Linked DNA regions of Homo sapiens: region 2 is linked to region 1. The links are contacts of gene promoters, found by promoter capture Hi-C in blood cells and fetal thymus (Javierre and others, 2016). All regions are on one chromosome and are shown on one strand. Each heading gives the region's core, a stretch centred on a gene start or on the middle of the fragment in contact. The rest is flanking DNA. Distances are from core to core; before and after follow the strand shown.

Evidence for each region. The method cuts DNA at HindIII sites, captures the fragments that hold promoters and counts their contacts. A CHiCAGO score of 5 or more calls a contact.
Region 2: a fragment that was not itself captured here is called in contact with the fragment with the promoter of TNFSF4 in region 1 in 1 of 17 cell types (megakaryocytes); the score reaches 6.0 in megakaryocytes.

What each region holds. Positions count from the first base shown.
Region 1 is chr1:173,204,723-173,211,716 of GRCh38, reverse strand. TNFSF4 (TNF superfamily member 4) reads left to right here and starts at 4,386. Exons shown (of 3, transcript NM_003326.5): 1 at 4,386-4,693. The coding sequence starts at 4,541. RefSeq lists an enhancer at 4,395-4,454. The HindIII fragment of the contact is 1,344 bases long and covers 3,651-4,994 here.
Region 2 is chr1:173,417,071-173,424,064 of GRCh38, reverse strand. PRDX6-AS1 (PRDX6 antisense RNA 1) reads left to right here. Exons shown (of 2, transcript NR_125960.1): 2 at 5,443-6,276. The region is part of intron 2 of LOC100506023 (a long non-coding RNA gene); the gene reads left to right. It also overlaps a transcript of TNFSF4 not described here. Among named protein-coding and RNA genes, the nearest start is that of PRDX6-AS1, 41 kb to the left of the region's middle. RefSeq lists enhancers at 3,686-3,785, 5,544-5,883. The HindIII fragment of the contact is 1,332 bases long and covers 2,485-3,816 here.

The sequences.
Region 1 (6,994 bases), core at 3,137-5,636:
CAGCAAGCTCACTACCTCACAGGACAGCCCTTCATGGGGAATGTGTAACGTGTAGGGTTTTGATAGTCAGAGGTGGAGGGTAAGGGTGTTTGAGGCAGAGTGAATATTAGAAATAATCAGAAAATAGAGGGAGATAAGTTTGGAAGGAAAACTTGGAACTCCTGCAGGAGGAAACCTGTGCCAGGATGAAGGGCTTGGAGAGCTGACTGCAGGAGCTCAAGTGAGGAGTAATAAGAGTTTGGATTAGAAGCAATAGGAATGGCAAAGAGGAGGAAAGAAAAAACTGCATTGCAGGGCTAGCCTACAAAGCTTGATGACTGGGAACGAGGATGATTCAAAGTTGATTCTTGGATTTTGAGGTCCTGGAGTACAAAAACATTAACCAGGACAGTGACATTAGGATCAGGAATAGGTTGAAAAGGCAGATTACAAATCAGATTTTGACATTTGAAAATGCATTTGTTTCTGTCACCTCCGACATCACTCTATCACTTGTCCCAGGGCAGAGTTTATCTATGACTCCCTGTGTATGCTCAGAGATTGGCACTGAGTACACTCTCAGAATGTCTGGTGAATGAAGAGCCACTGTAAGTGTCTTCTCCATTTGTGTCCTCCCTGCTTTAGTTTAGGACCTTATTTCTCACTTGAATCATTGCAGACTCAAGGTCCCTAGCTTATACCACTGTCTTTGTGTGTTTTAGAACAAGGCACCCCCTGCGGGTTTATAAATTAGAAAAAGAGCCTGCATTTAAATGAGTACAGCCCTTTGTTCAGGGCTTAGGAAGCAAAGTTCACCTTTGTGGGATGATAAACATATCCCTTCCTGCAGGAGGAAACTTCCTGTACCAGGATGGAGGGCTTAGAGAGCTGACTGCAGAGGTGGAATTTTAGATCTCACTCATTCCCTCAGCTGGCACAGAGCACCCTGGAAATGTCTCCCAGTTGGCCAACTTGATCCTGCCTTGCCATATCTGTCTCTTTTCCCCCCCCTAGAATTATTTCCTGAAGTACCTGCCATTTCTATTTCCCTCAGTCAGAGTGATTTTTTTTGTAATTCTAAAATGTAATCATATCATATCATATCACATTCTGCTTCAAACCTCTCCATGTTTCTCCAGTAGCTGCAGCATGAAGTCCAAAGTCCTTAACTTGTAACAAAAGTCCATTTACGACAGATTCTTCTGAGCCTCTTCTCCAGCAGCCACTCTCCTTCACCATCTTCCTCTTCAGCTGTAGTTCCCTGAACTGACACTGCACAAACAGGCTCCACTGCCCTCACTCCTGGCCCAACAGGCACTGCCCCTCCCCAGTGCCCCAGATGGCCAGACTGCTTCTCGTTTCTCCCAGATCAAGGAAGCTGTTCCTGTCCTAATTCCAGTGTAGATTAGCACCTGTCCCCCTGCACCCTTCCCTTCTGCACTGATACCTAGGACCCAGAACTTTCCAGGTTGTGGAGATTCCGCTTTCCTGTCTGTGACCTCCCTGAGGACTAAAAATGTGTTTTGTTTGTGTCTTTTCCTCTAGTATTTGGCTCAGTCTTGTTGAATGGACAAATGAAAATCTGACTTAGAGATAAATGAAAAATGTAGATTTTTTTTATCACCAAAAAACCCCAAAACCAAAACCCAGACACCAAAAAATCCAAACAACAACAAAACCCTCAAACCAAAGAAAAAAAAAAAACCCAAATGTTTTTTGCTTCTTTCTGAACATGAGGTATCTTGTGAGTGGTCAAAGCCCTTTTCTTTTCCATATTTTCTGTAGTCTTGAAATGGCTATTCATTTAGGAGGTTAATAGTCTATGGGAAGATAATTACTTTGGTTTATTTTACATCCTGTGGCTTTATTTTAAGGCTGATTTGCTCTGGTGTGCTTATGTATTTAATATTTGTGAGATACTTTAAGAAAAATTGCCACCAGGCTTGGTGGCTGATGCCTATAAACCCAGTGCTTTGGGAGGCCAAGGCAGGAGGATTGCTTGAGGCTAGGCATTTGTGACCAGCCTGGGAAACATAGGGAGTCTCTACAAGAAATTTTAAAAGAAATTAGCCAGACCTGGTGTTGCGTGTCTATAGTCCTAGCTACTTGGGAGGCTGAGGCAGGAGGATCGCTCAAGCCCAGGAGTTCCGGATTACAGTGAGCTATGATTGTGCTACTCTACTCCAGCCTGGGCAACAGAGTGAGACCCTGTCTCTAAAATAAATAAATAAATGCAAATGAAAAAAATTGCCCATAGATTTAGTAACGTATTTGACCCCTTTAAAAACAATTAAGCTTTATTTTTTGAAAAACGTTTTGAAGATGGAGGACTCTGCTTATGTGCCTGAGACTGAAAGGTCAGCAATGATAACTCTAATAGTGATTTCATTTGTTCAAATGCTAGACTAGCCCAGTGATGAACTTTGGAATGCCTAGATAGTCTATCAGAAATCTGTGCCTGAAACTTCCAGCCTGGTGTGTGTGTATCTCTTCCCACAAAGAATGTGAAGAGCTGTGAAAACGTGTTCAATAAAAAAAGAGACAATTAAGTGTAAAATATCACTTAAACATCAACAAAAATTACAACTAGGCAAAATATGGTAGTAGGACGACAAGACAATAAAAATGAGAGGTGTGTCATCCAAGTGTTAGCCTAAATGTGGGTAGAGATGACTCTGTGCAAAGATTTTTCTTTCTCGGAGCCATGATATTAACACTGAGAAGAAATGCTGCTTAAGGTACAAGTATGTGCATGGTAAATGTTTATTTTTTTCATTCTTTTGACAGTAATTTAAAAATGTTATCTACGATTTTCAGCATGAATAGTTTTTACTACTTTTTCAGCTTATTTCTAGTTTCCAATAGTATTTATGGCTTTTTTTTTTTTTGCTGTGACTCTTAGTCATTTTTTGAAAATTGACGAGTAAATAGTTACTGATTTTAATACTCTTTTATGAAGAACTATTACACAAGAATTGGGCTTTACACACTGATTTTTCCTTCAGCTTTTTTCTCCACACCCTGTATGTAACACAAGCTTTGTTCAAGGGAATAACTATGACAAATATGTTTGGATACAATTTGATTTCTAGTTTTGGCTTGGAGTCTATGATATTGTGCCTTAGTTACCTTATCTTTCAGATAAAACTTAAATTTCTCAACACCAGTATGTTCTCCTAATGCAAGGCATAATTATTGTAGTGAAGGTATTAATTCATATTTTAATTGATTAATACTGTAGTCATAAATGTACTTTACATTTCCCACAAACTTTCTCTTTTAAGTATGCCTCATTTCCATTTTTTCTGTGAAGTGGTATAACAACTCATACTGTCAATATCCAAAATATTTCTCCCTCCTTTCTTTACATATCTGCTGGGTGCCTCATGGGGAGCTGAGAGAGACATACTTGGCCACAAAGAGAGACAATTCCGTCTTAAACAGCTTTTCCCCAGCATCCTTATGTTGTCCAGTACAGTGCCAGGCTCATGTGATGTACTCAGTAAATATTTGCCCATTTGAACTTTACATTATAAGTAATTTTATCATTTATTTCATTTCATTGTTTATTTTAGTGGTAAAGGGTACCTGGTGTCTATTGATAGAATACTCTTACTTTCCAAGTTCTGAGGCCAGCCACGACCTCAAAGAAAGAAATAATCTTCAAAGCTTATTTACATCTATTCATTTGTTCATTCATGGAAAAATTATGTACGGGAAAAATGTGAAGTGGAAGGAAAGGAGACAAGGATACCCTTCTGCTTCTTTTCTGGTATGCAGAAAATTAATCATATAATTGTTTATTGAATTTGCCTCAAAGGGTTAAATGAGAGAAAGATTGCAAGTCCATCTAACACAGTGTCTGACACATAGTAAATGCTTCCAAAAGGTAGTTTATTTTTATGCAATAGACTACAACCAAGGATCTCTCCTTTACTTCTGCATGACCCAGTGTCCTATTTTCTTGTTTTGTCTTTTTCATTCAAGAATGATCTGTGTGTGCTTTCTTTCTGAATCTGTGAGAGGGGTTCAATGTTTAGTTACATAGTAAAGTGCAGATAAGAACCTTGGGCCAGCATTTCCCCTAAATCTTTTCTATGATTTAAGACACCTTGGGGAAGGGATATATGAGCTGCTACATTAACGGATGATGATTTTTATCTTTACCAAGTGACCCACAATTTGTTACTGGTGCAATAAGTTAAGAAAATAGCATACTTTTATGACTGTCATTTCACAGTCACTCAAATCAGAACTGGAATGTCACAAAAACAACTCCCTGTTAGCCCAGAGGAAAAAAAAAAAGAAAGAAAGTAAAGGGGAAATTCAGATTAGTCACAAAGAAGTTCCCCCGCCTGCCTGCAAAAGTTGCAGCGTTAAAACTGAGAGAGTCCGCTTTGCTCTTTCAATCGCCTTTTATCTCTGGCCCTGGGACCTTTGCCTATTTTCTGATTGATAGGCTTTGTTTTGTCTTTACCTCCTTCTTTCTGGGGAAAACTTCAGTTTTATCGCACGTTCCCCTTTTCCATATCTTCATCTTCCCTCTACCCAGATTGTGAAGATGGAAAGGGTCCAACCCCTGGAAGAGAATGTGGGAAATGCAGCCAGGCCAAGATTCGAGAGGAACAAGCTATTGCTGGTGGCCTCTGTAATTCAGGGACTGGGGCTGCTCCTGTGCTTCACCTACATCTGCCTGCACTTCTCTGCTCTTCAGGTAAGATGCACCACTGGGCGCTGTTTTCCCACCAGCTCATGCTGATGGCAGCTGCAACAGCTGCAAACAGTCGCTTGGAAATAATCTTATGCCAAAAGTGTTGAGTTTTTTTTCCCTCTCCCCACAGCAATCGTAAAGTGTGGTTAAACGCCCTTCTGTCTCTCCTTTCCTTCCTTCTTTTCAGCAGTGGCAGTGGTAGGGCAGAGTGGAGGTAGGGCAGAGGCACAGCTTCTAGATCTTTTTCTTTTTCTTTGCAATGCAAGATTCCTTGTATCCCTTTATAAGCTGTCACTTTGAAGCTTTGAGTCACTGATATACCTGGTCTACCCATTGTGATAGTAATGTGTTTGATCAGGCAATTAATATTAAAAGGAAATAGGAAAGAGACCAGTTCCACTTTCCCATAATATTCATATACCCTATAGACCTGCAAGGTGATTTTCTTTGTAAAGAATGCTGAAGGTATCAATATTAATAGCGGAGCAATGTGTGCGTGCATGTGTGTGTGCCTATGTGCTCACTCATTCACCCCAATGATTTAATCAGATATTGTTTCTCACAATCTATCTCTTCCAGTCATAATTTAAAGACATCATTTCACCTTTTCCCTACCTTATTAAATACATCATGTAGTAGGAGATTATCCTTCTAGTATTTTCCCCATATAGTTAAAATATTTCCATTTTTCTTTCACTTTATTCTTGTTCCACACTTCTCTCTTTTGCATTATTTTTTCTTATTCAGTAGTTCAGATATACAAACATTATTAGGTATTTAAGGATGTTCTTCACTGCAGAAGATGCCACTGGAGAAAAATAAATCTATACTCTCTTCGTGTTCCTTTGTTGAGCTAGTCTGATAATCTTGTTTTCTAGGTGGTTGCTTTGGGTTAGAAATGTTTCTCCCTGATAAAGTTCAGGTAATACAAACTGATTTCTGATGGTCTTGTCTGAGATTAAGCACCTCCAATGAAACCAGAATGAGATGAGCAGTCTTGGCAAATGCCTGGGCTTGTTTCTGCCTACAGGAAATAGGGTTTTCAGTGCATGGAGGCTGGTAAGAGTGTGTGTGGTTATGATCACTGTACCACAGACAGTGCTTGTGTCTCCAAATTCCAGAAGTGTAGCTAGTGTCATGCTCAGGTCTGCAGAACAGTGAGCACAACAACACATTGATCCTCTCCTCATCACACCACACTCTTATGTCTTCTCGCAGAACTCTTTGGGTGAAATTAAAGTAGGCGACTCGGGGAGAGGGTGTGGGGGAAGAGTAAGGTGTCCATGGCAGGATGCCCAAGACATCGACCGGATGCCCAAGACATCAACCGGAATTAGGCTCTTTTGAGAAGAAAACAAAGAGAGTAACCAAATATAGAACAGCTGAGTGCATTCACCAGTCTGGGAGCCCTGAGAGTGCTTTTTCTAACAACCACAGTGTTACATATTTCCTTACACCATGGGATGATAAAACACAGGACACATGGCTCCATTCAAGGCTAACTGATTGCACAACGGCTCTGAGCAGGAGAGAGCAAAAGGTGAACCACAGTTGTACAGCTTGCTGGTGGTTGGGGTCACATTGGACTATCAATATCCAGGAGATGTTGAGAAAAAGAGGGGATCCTTTCCAACAAGTCATCCAGCAACTCTGGGACAGAAGGAAAGCTGTGGGAAGAAAAGCAGGGTGCTGGTTTCTAGGACACTAAACCTCATGGTGAGTGATCTCTAGGGGAGAATTAGCTTCTATAGTCCTGGCACAGAGATGGAAGCAAGACATAGGTGGTATATTTGAGTTGTTTGCTTAAGAAACATGCCCTGTCTACTCTGAAAATAGATTTCTTTTTTTTGCTCAGGATATTTGAAGTTCTTCACTTGATGTTAATTATAATTTTTTTATTTCTAATTAGCTAATGTAATTTCTTATATTGTTATAGGATCTGGGACAGCACAATGGGTCCTTACATTTAATCTTATATTTATTATTTACACTTCATTATGAGAAGGATAGCATAGATGGGTTGTGTGTGTTTTCCCTAGAACCTGATAGTTTACCAAATAATGTTGGTGGCAGTGATAGCAGCAGTGTGTGTGTGTGTGTGTTTGTGTGTGTGTGTGTGTGTGTTTCTGTGTGTTTGAGAGAGAGAGAGAAACAGAGACAGAGAGATTGAGAGAGAACATTGTAGAGCAGCTGCTGACAAAGAGACATAGACTAGTAGCCATTTAAAACTCATCTACAATACTGTTTGGAAGTTTGATTGAGGGATCGGGTGGTGGTGGTGGTGGTGGTGTTGGTAGTGATGAG
Region 2 (6,994 bases), core at 1,901-4,400, 210 kb before region 1:
TGAGGGAGTGTTTGTTCTTTTCTGTTCTTCTGCCATGAGGATACAGCATTCACCCCCCTTTTTGCCCTTCTGTCCCTCCCACCATGTCAGGACACAGTGCGTAAGGTACCTCCTTGGAAGCAGAGACCAGGCCGTTTCCAGCCACCAAACCTGCTGGCACCTTGATCTTGGATTTCCCAGCCTCCAGAACTGTGAGAAATAAATTTTTTATTGTTTACAAATTACCCAGTCTCAGGTATTTTGTTACAGTGGCATAAACAGATGAAGACACTCTCTAATTATAAAGGAATTGCCAAGGATAATATTAAAGGCAGACATAGAAGATAGGCATAGTTTTGGTTCACTTTGCTTCCGTGTCTTTGTACAAATTGTTACTTCTCCATCACCGGTGGGATGTTCTCCTTCCTACCCCATATGCTTCCACCAGTTCACAGCTACCAGTTTCTTCAAGACCTGGCTCAAAGCCTAGTCCTTCCTAGGGGACTTCTTTCCTGAGTCCAGACCACTGCAGTTGCCCCTTTATCCAGTGGTCACAAGGCATCCACACAGGCTGACAGTTGCTACCTGATCATCATCACCAGTCATCAAGCTGTTATTGCATACTTGGTATATGAAAGGCTCTATGTCATGTGCTGTGGGGGAGGGAGGGAGAGCTTTGCAGAGGAAGTGGGATTCAAGCAGGGTCTTGAAGGCTGTGTTTTAATTAAAGAGGTGGAAAAGAAGGGGAATAAAATAATGGACAACATTGAAGATCAACTTCTACTCTTCTTGTTATTGGCTATATAATTTTGAGAAAAATCTTTTAATCCCTGTGGAAATCCATTTTCTCATATGTAAGGTGGGAGTAATAAAATCTATTATTTTAGATTTAGGGAGGGTGCTTATGAGGATCAATGTGAAAGCCCCATGTATTGGTGAGAATGAATTTATTTGCAAGTGATATTAATAACTTAATTAAGATATAACATGTAAGGAGGCTGAGGCAGGAGAATCGCTTGAACCTGGGAGGCGGAGGTTGCAGTAAGCCGAGATCTCACCGCTGCACTCCAGTGTGGGCAACAGAGCGAGACTCTGTCTAAAAAAAAAAAAATGTACATATATATATGTATGTAACATGTAACATCTCTTCAGTGGTTAACATGAAGCTGACAAACCTCCTTTCTCCACGACATCAACTCTCTCATCTGGTGGTGTCCACCGTCTTACTCCTGTTGGTTGAAGATGGAAGAAGTCTTGCATTTGTACTTCCTTGTGCAGGGGCCCACATATGGGTGTTCCGTCATTCCAGTAACTTTACATTGCTTGGTAATTGACTGGTTTTCCAAAGAGAAGGGAACTGAATTGTCTCCCCCTCCTCTGCACACACTTTGTTGTTTTAAGTCTGCACCTTTGCTTGCTGTTGCCTCCACTGCTTGGAATGCGCCATCTTCTCAGCCTCAGCCTGGTCAGCAGTTACTGGGTCAGTAAGAGTCAGCTGAGGTCTCACTCTGTGAAGTTTCCCTGACCTCATTTTGACCTCCTAGACTGGCCAAGGTTCCCCTTTTCTGTACTCCCATGCCGTACTGGGTATTGCTCTCTCCAGTGCACAGTTATCACACCATACTACAAAGACCTGCCTCTCTCACTGGGCTCTCCATCCCTTTAAGGCTGGCACATAGCACTCACTCATGACATGGTTGTTGAATGAATGAATGGCCTTCCTCCATTCTCTCCCAGTCCTTTTTTTTTTTTTTTTTTTCACTCTGGGCACCACCATTCCTTCTCTCTCATTCTGCATTGTTTATGGCTTGTTAGTTATTAATGCAAAGCCATTTCTGGGTCTCTAGACCCATTGGTAATGGCCATTGGTAATGTCTCTAGGTGTTAATAATAACACTAGCTCACATCTACTGAGCACTTACTATTTGGCTGGCACTGTTCTAAGCACTTTGCATGTTTAAACTCCTTTAAACGTTCCTTTGTTGCCGCTTTTTTTTCTGCTAGGGACTAACCTTGACATTGTGGGGGAGAGGTGTTCTCGTATAGCTGTGGGACTGTAACATGGCTTTATTTTCCTATTATGTGCAGGACAGTAAATCCTGCAGAGGAATACAAGTTGACTAGGTCTGTCATCACTCAAATACTGGAAGATATGGCTGGGAAAAAACCAACAACAAAAAGTTTTGATATCCTCATAGTGCAATGACATTACAGTTTTATTTTGTTTTGTTTTTTTCTTTATGCGTAGTTCTAAATTACTGTATTATGTTTCAGGTAATTAAGCCAGAAGAACAAATTGGGATGGACTGTTGTATTTACATTTCAGTTTACTAGAGGTAGCCTTGAAATAGTTACAAAAATATGAATATCAGTGGGGAAAAAAATAAGGGGGATTTTCATTTTTTTTTTTCCAGAAACGATAAATTGGCAAGGAAGACAGATACGGGAAAATCAGTCATGAGAATTTGTCTTTCAGTGACTCTTTCTTGGCTGGGAAGAAAAGCTTTTCTTCTATTTAGTTGAGAACAGTGACAAGGATTATTTTACTTGAGGATGGCAGATTATTTTACCAGCAGCTGGCAGATGAGAATAATTCCCTAGACAACAAGGAGGGGCAGTATGGTAGGGAGGGAACCCGGTTCGGAGGGTCTGGGGTTCACAGCTCCACAGTGCTGCTTACCAGCTCTTAGCCTTCATTACATTGCTTACCTTCCTGGAGGTTCAGTTTCCTTATCCATAAAATGGGGGTCAGGTTGCCAAATTTATCAAATAAGAATCTAGGATGTCCAGTTAAAGCTGAATTTCAGATAAATAATTATTTTTTAGTGTAAATATGTCCCATAAAATATTTATGTCCCATGCAATAACTATGTCCCTAATGGTGCGTGGGACATATGCTAAAACATTATTTGTTGTTTATCTGAAATTCAAATTTAACTGTGCGGCCTATATTTTTTCTGGCAACCCTAAATGCGGGCAGGGGCAGTGGTGGTGACATGTAGGGATGGTGTGAGGATAAAATAATACCACAGTTAGGTTTTATCGCAGTGTGTAGTCTGTGTGTAGTCAACACATAACTATAAGTAGTGACTGTAACATAACTGTAACTGGTGCATAGTAAAAAACAAATGGATATTATTAGTATAATAGTTGTTATTAATAAAGGTCTTTAAATGACAATTGGCCATACAGGAGCCTTTGGGGAAAAGTTTCTGACTCTAAATTAAGGGAAGGTAAATTATGATCAAGATCTGGGAATAAGATTTAGACTTACACAGTAATAATTTGAGGAAGAGAAAGACTTAGTAAATTAGTTATGTAATTACATAATTAACAACTTGGGAGGTTTTCTTTACACGTTTATTCCCTAGGGCATCATCTTTAAATTATATTTAGTTTTTGCTAAGTTGACCAGTTTGTGGTTTTAAGTGTTTACTTTCTTTTCTTTTGAAATGTAGGGAAAGCATATTTGACATCATCTTAAAGAAATTATGTAGCCATATAAAACCGGAGGGTAGGGTCTACTGGCCAGGAAAAAAAAAGGCCTTTACTGCCACCTGGTGGCCATATTCTTTAACTGCAATGTGCCTAAGTGAGGCTGGAAAGGAAAGCGTTGGAAAACATGCTAAACCCAGAGGGCACCAAGGCCGCGTCATGACAGTAAGAGCCGTCAAGTACTGTGTCCTTTCCCTCAGTTCTCAATCTCTCACAGCTTGAGGCTTGAGAATTAGCAGCTGGCTACGAGAGGTGGAGGAGAGAAAATGGTGAAGTCCATGCCTTCCTCCTTGGTACCGAGTTTCCAAACCTGAAGTGAAGGAGTCTGAGAGGGGAGAAGCTTCAGGTTGAGTAGACTGTTTTTTACTTTTTTTTTTGTTTGTTTGTTTTAAAGAGCCTCTTTATTTAATGGCTCAGAGTGGCTAGAAAATCCGTGGTATTGGTTAGCTTTCATCTCAAGTGCAGGGACAAGGCAAATCCAGAGAGAGGAGTTGAAAGGACAAAGAAAAAAGAAAAAAAATTGCTTTTTACGTGCATTTTGCTGCATGCAGCTCACTCAATAAACATGCGTTAAATGCATAAATATATCATGAGGTAAAAATCGGGGGAAAGGTGATGCATTGATGCTGATAGAGGACAGGCAAACTGCATTCCATTTGGACCGCAGCCTCTCATCCCCCCCCCCGCCACACAAACTAAGGTCAAAATCAGGGAGGGAGTCCAGGGTAAAGTTATCAGTAGAGTCAGCTCTAGGAGCTATAGTTAATCTATTTTAAAAAATCTTAAAAAACCCATAAGTCCATTATAGCAGGGACATAAAGCAGTCCTAGCCTCCTGACCCTGACCCAGCCATGGCAATCAGGGCTGCTTCCTTTTATTCTCCCTTGTGTCCTCATGGGTCTTTCCAAGCCCTGCAGGGAAGGGTGGAAGCTGGTTCCATCAGTGCCTCTCCCCCAGCTTCCACCCTCCTCTCTCTTCTGTGACCTCTCAGTTTTCCTTCTCTGTACCCCAAATCATGCCTGTCTTAGTCCATTGCTGTAACAGAATTCTACAGACTGGATCATTTATAAAGACAAGAAATTTATTGCTTATAGTTCTGGAGGCTGGGAAGTCCAAGCACATGGTGCTGGCATTTGGTGAAGGCCTTCTTGCTGCATCCTCACGTGGCAGAGGGCATCACATGGCAAGTGGGCAAGAGCAGGCTTGTCCGCTTGGGTTACTCTAACTCTTCTTTTTTTTTTTTTTTTCTGAGACGGAGTCTTGCTCTGTCACCCAGGCTGGAGTGCAGTGGTGTGATCTCAGCTCCCTGCAAGCTCCGCCTCCCAGGTTCAGGCCACTCTCCTGCCTCAGCCTCCCAAGTAGCTGGGACTACAGGTGCCCGCCACCACACCCGGCTAATTTTTTTGTATTTTTTTGGTAGAGATGGGGTTTCACCGTGTTAGCCAGGATGGTCTCGATCTCCTGACCTCGTGATCTGCCCGCCTTGGCCTCCCAAAGTGCTGGGATTACAGGCGTGAGCCACAGCACCCGGCCAGGTTACTCTAACTCTTCTTATAAAGCCACCAGCCCCACCGTGGGGGCCACACACTCATGGCCTTATTTAATCTTAATTACCTCTCAAAGGCCCTACCTCCAAATGTCATCGATATGTGAATTTGGGAATTAAGTTTCCAGCACATGAAATTTGGGGGTCACATTCAAACCATAGCAATGCTTAACCTTAGAATACTGCCTGGCATCTGCCCAGGCTTCCACAGCCACTACCTCTGGGACATGTTGGGATCTCTGTTTACATGTAAGGCTCGCCATGACCATTACACATCTGTGAGTCAGTGTAGGGTCCTGGTGGAAGCCCGGTCTTGGAGTCCCTCCATTATGTTTGCTACCCTGGCTCTCCACCTTCAATTTCTGGCTTCTCATTTTGGACTATGATGATTTTCTTGTTGTTAATTTTTTTTTTTTTTTTAGTATGAAAGTTTTCAAGACGCCTACAAGTGGAAAATGCACTCCTCCCAGCCAAATCAAGCTTCGCCAGATTCCTTACAGCTGTGTGCAGTGAAATGACTAATGAAAGAGCCCTCTGCTGCTGGTGGAACTTTCACATATGGCACTGTTATGCCACTCAGCAGGACCCGACCCTGGTATTTACATATTGGATGTCACCCCAAAAGCCCCTGACCAGGGGGTTTCCGGGATGTAATAAGAATGCCACTCTGGGCTTTGGAAGGTGCACCGTATGCACACCCATACTATAGGGCAGGGGTTAGCATTTCAGACCCCTGTTCCTCCCTTGACAAGCAAGTGCTTTTCTCCAGGGAAGACGTTCAGGTTCATTCATAGATCCATTGGTGCCGTGGGCAGCTCAGTAACAATAGCTCTGCTGCCTACCAGCTGCTGGTGGAGGTGTTGAGAATACCTAATGAGGAAGTCAGGGCCCCTGCGTGCTTCAGCAGAGCTGGATGCCTGGCATGGCAATCAATGGACACAAACCTTTGGATAATTTCCGTCCTTGGCGGTGTGTTCTATAGCATAGGTATGAAGTGGGTGCTCTGGGAGCTCAGAAGAGGGGCTCTTCTCTTAACTTATGGGTGGCCAGGGAAGGCTTCCTGGAGCTCAAATGACTGAGTGGAGTCTTCAACATTAAAAAAAAAAAAAAGAAAAAAAAAGTGCTTCCCTCCCACCCCCAGTTAAAAAGGTAATACACCTCATTGAAATAATTTAAACTTTACAGAAATGTGTTCCTTTAAAGTTCAGAGAGTAAAGAGGAAGTAATAAAGCTGAAATAGTAGAATTTCTAATTAACTGGAGCCTGTAGCTTTCTTCCTGAAAAGGGAGTGGTGTGTGTGCATGTGTGAGTGTGTGTAGGTGAATCTGTAAAGGATGGAGTAGTACTAAAAAGAGGGAGGTGAAGACGGAGGTGAGATCTCATCTTTGTGCCCTGAACCTCTTTGTTATAATGTCAGGCAATGAGAGAAATCAGTACTCACCCTCTATGGGACTCTGGCTTTTTCAAACTTGGTTTTCTAGGTTTTGGTCTTGGTTATTGATGGCTTGTAACTTCAGAGTCTCATTGCTGGCCACGCTTCCACGTGGTTTATTAAGATGTTTTCCTAAACAAAATTGATCTCTCCCTAAAAAAATTATAGGTCTAGCTGTAAGATGTTAACAATATTTAACCTGCTACAATGCCAATAAGAGTTCTTGTTTATTGAAGACTTTTTTTGCACCAGCTATGTGCTAAGAGCTTTACATTTGTTACCTCATAACATCAACCCTCACACGAACCTTATGAAGCGGGTATTTCATTATTCCCACATCCCAGATAAGGAAGCTAGGATTATTATTGCTGCACCCGCAAAGCTGATAATCAGTGGGGCTCGGCCCCAAACCGAGGTGTCTCTGACTCCTGGGTCTATGCTCACAAATGCACCATTCCTCTGCATTATTTCTCAAAAATATTTGGCTATAGGAGCATTTTCAAAAGTGAGCACCACTTACCTCTTAGTACTGTTATTAGCAT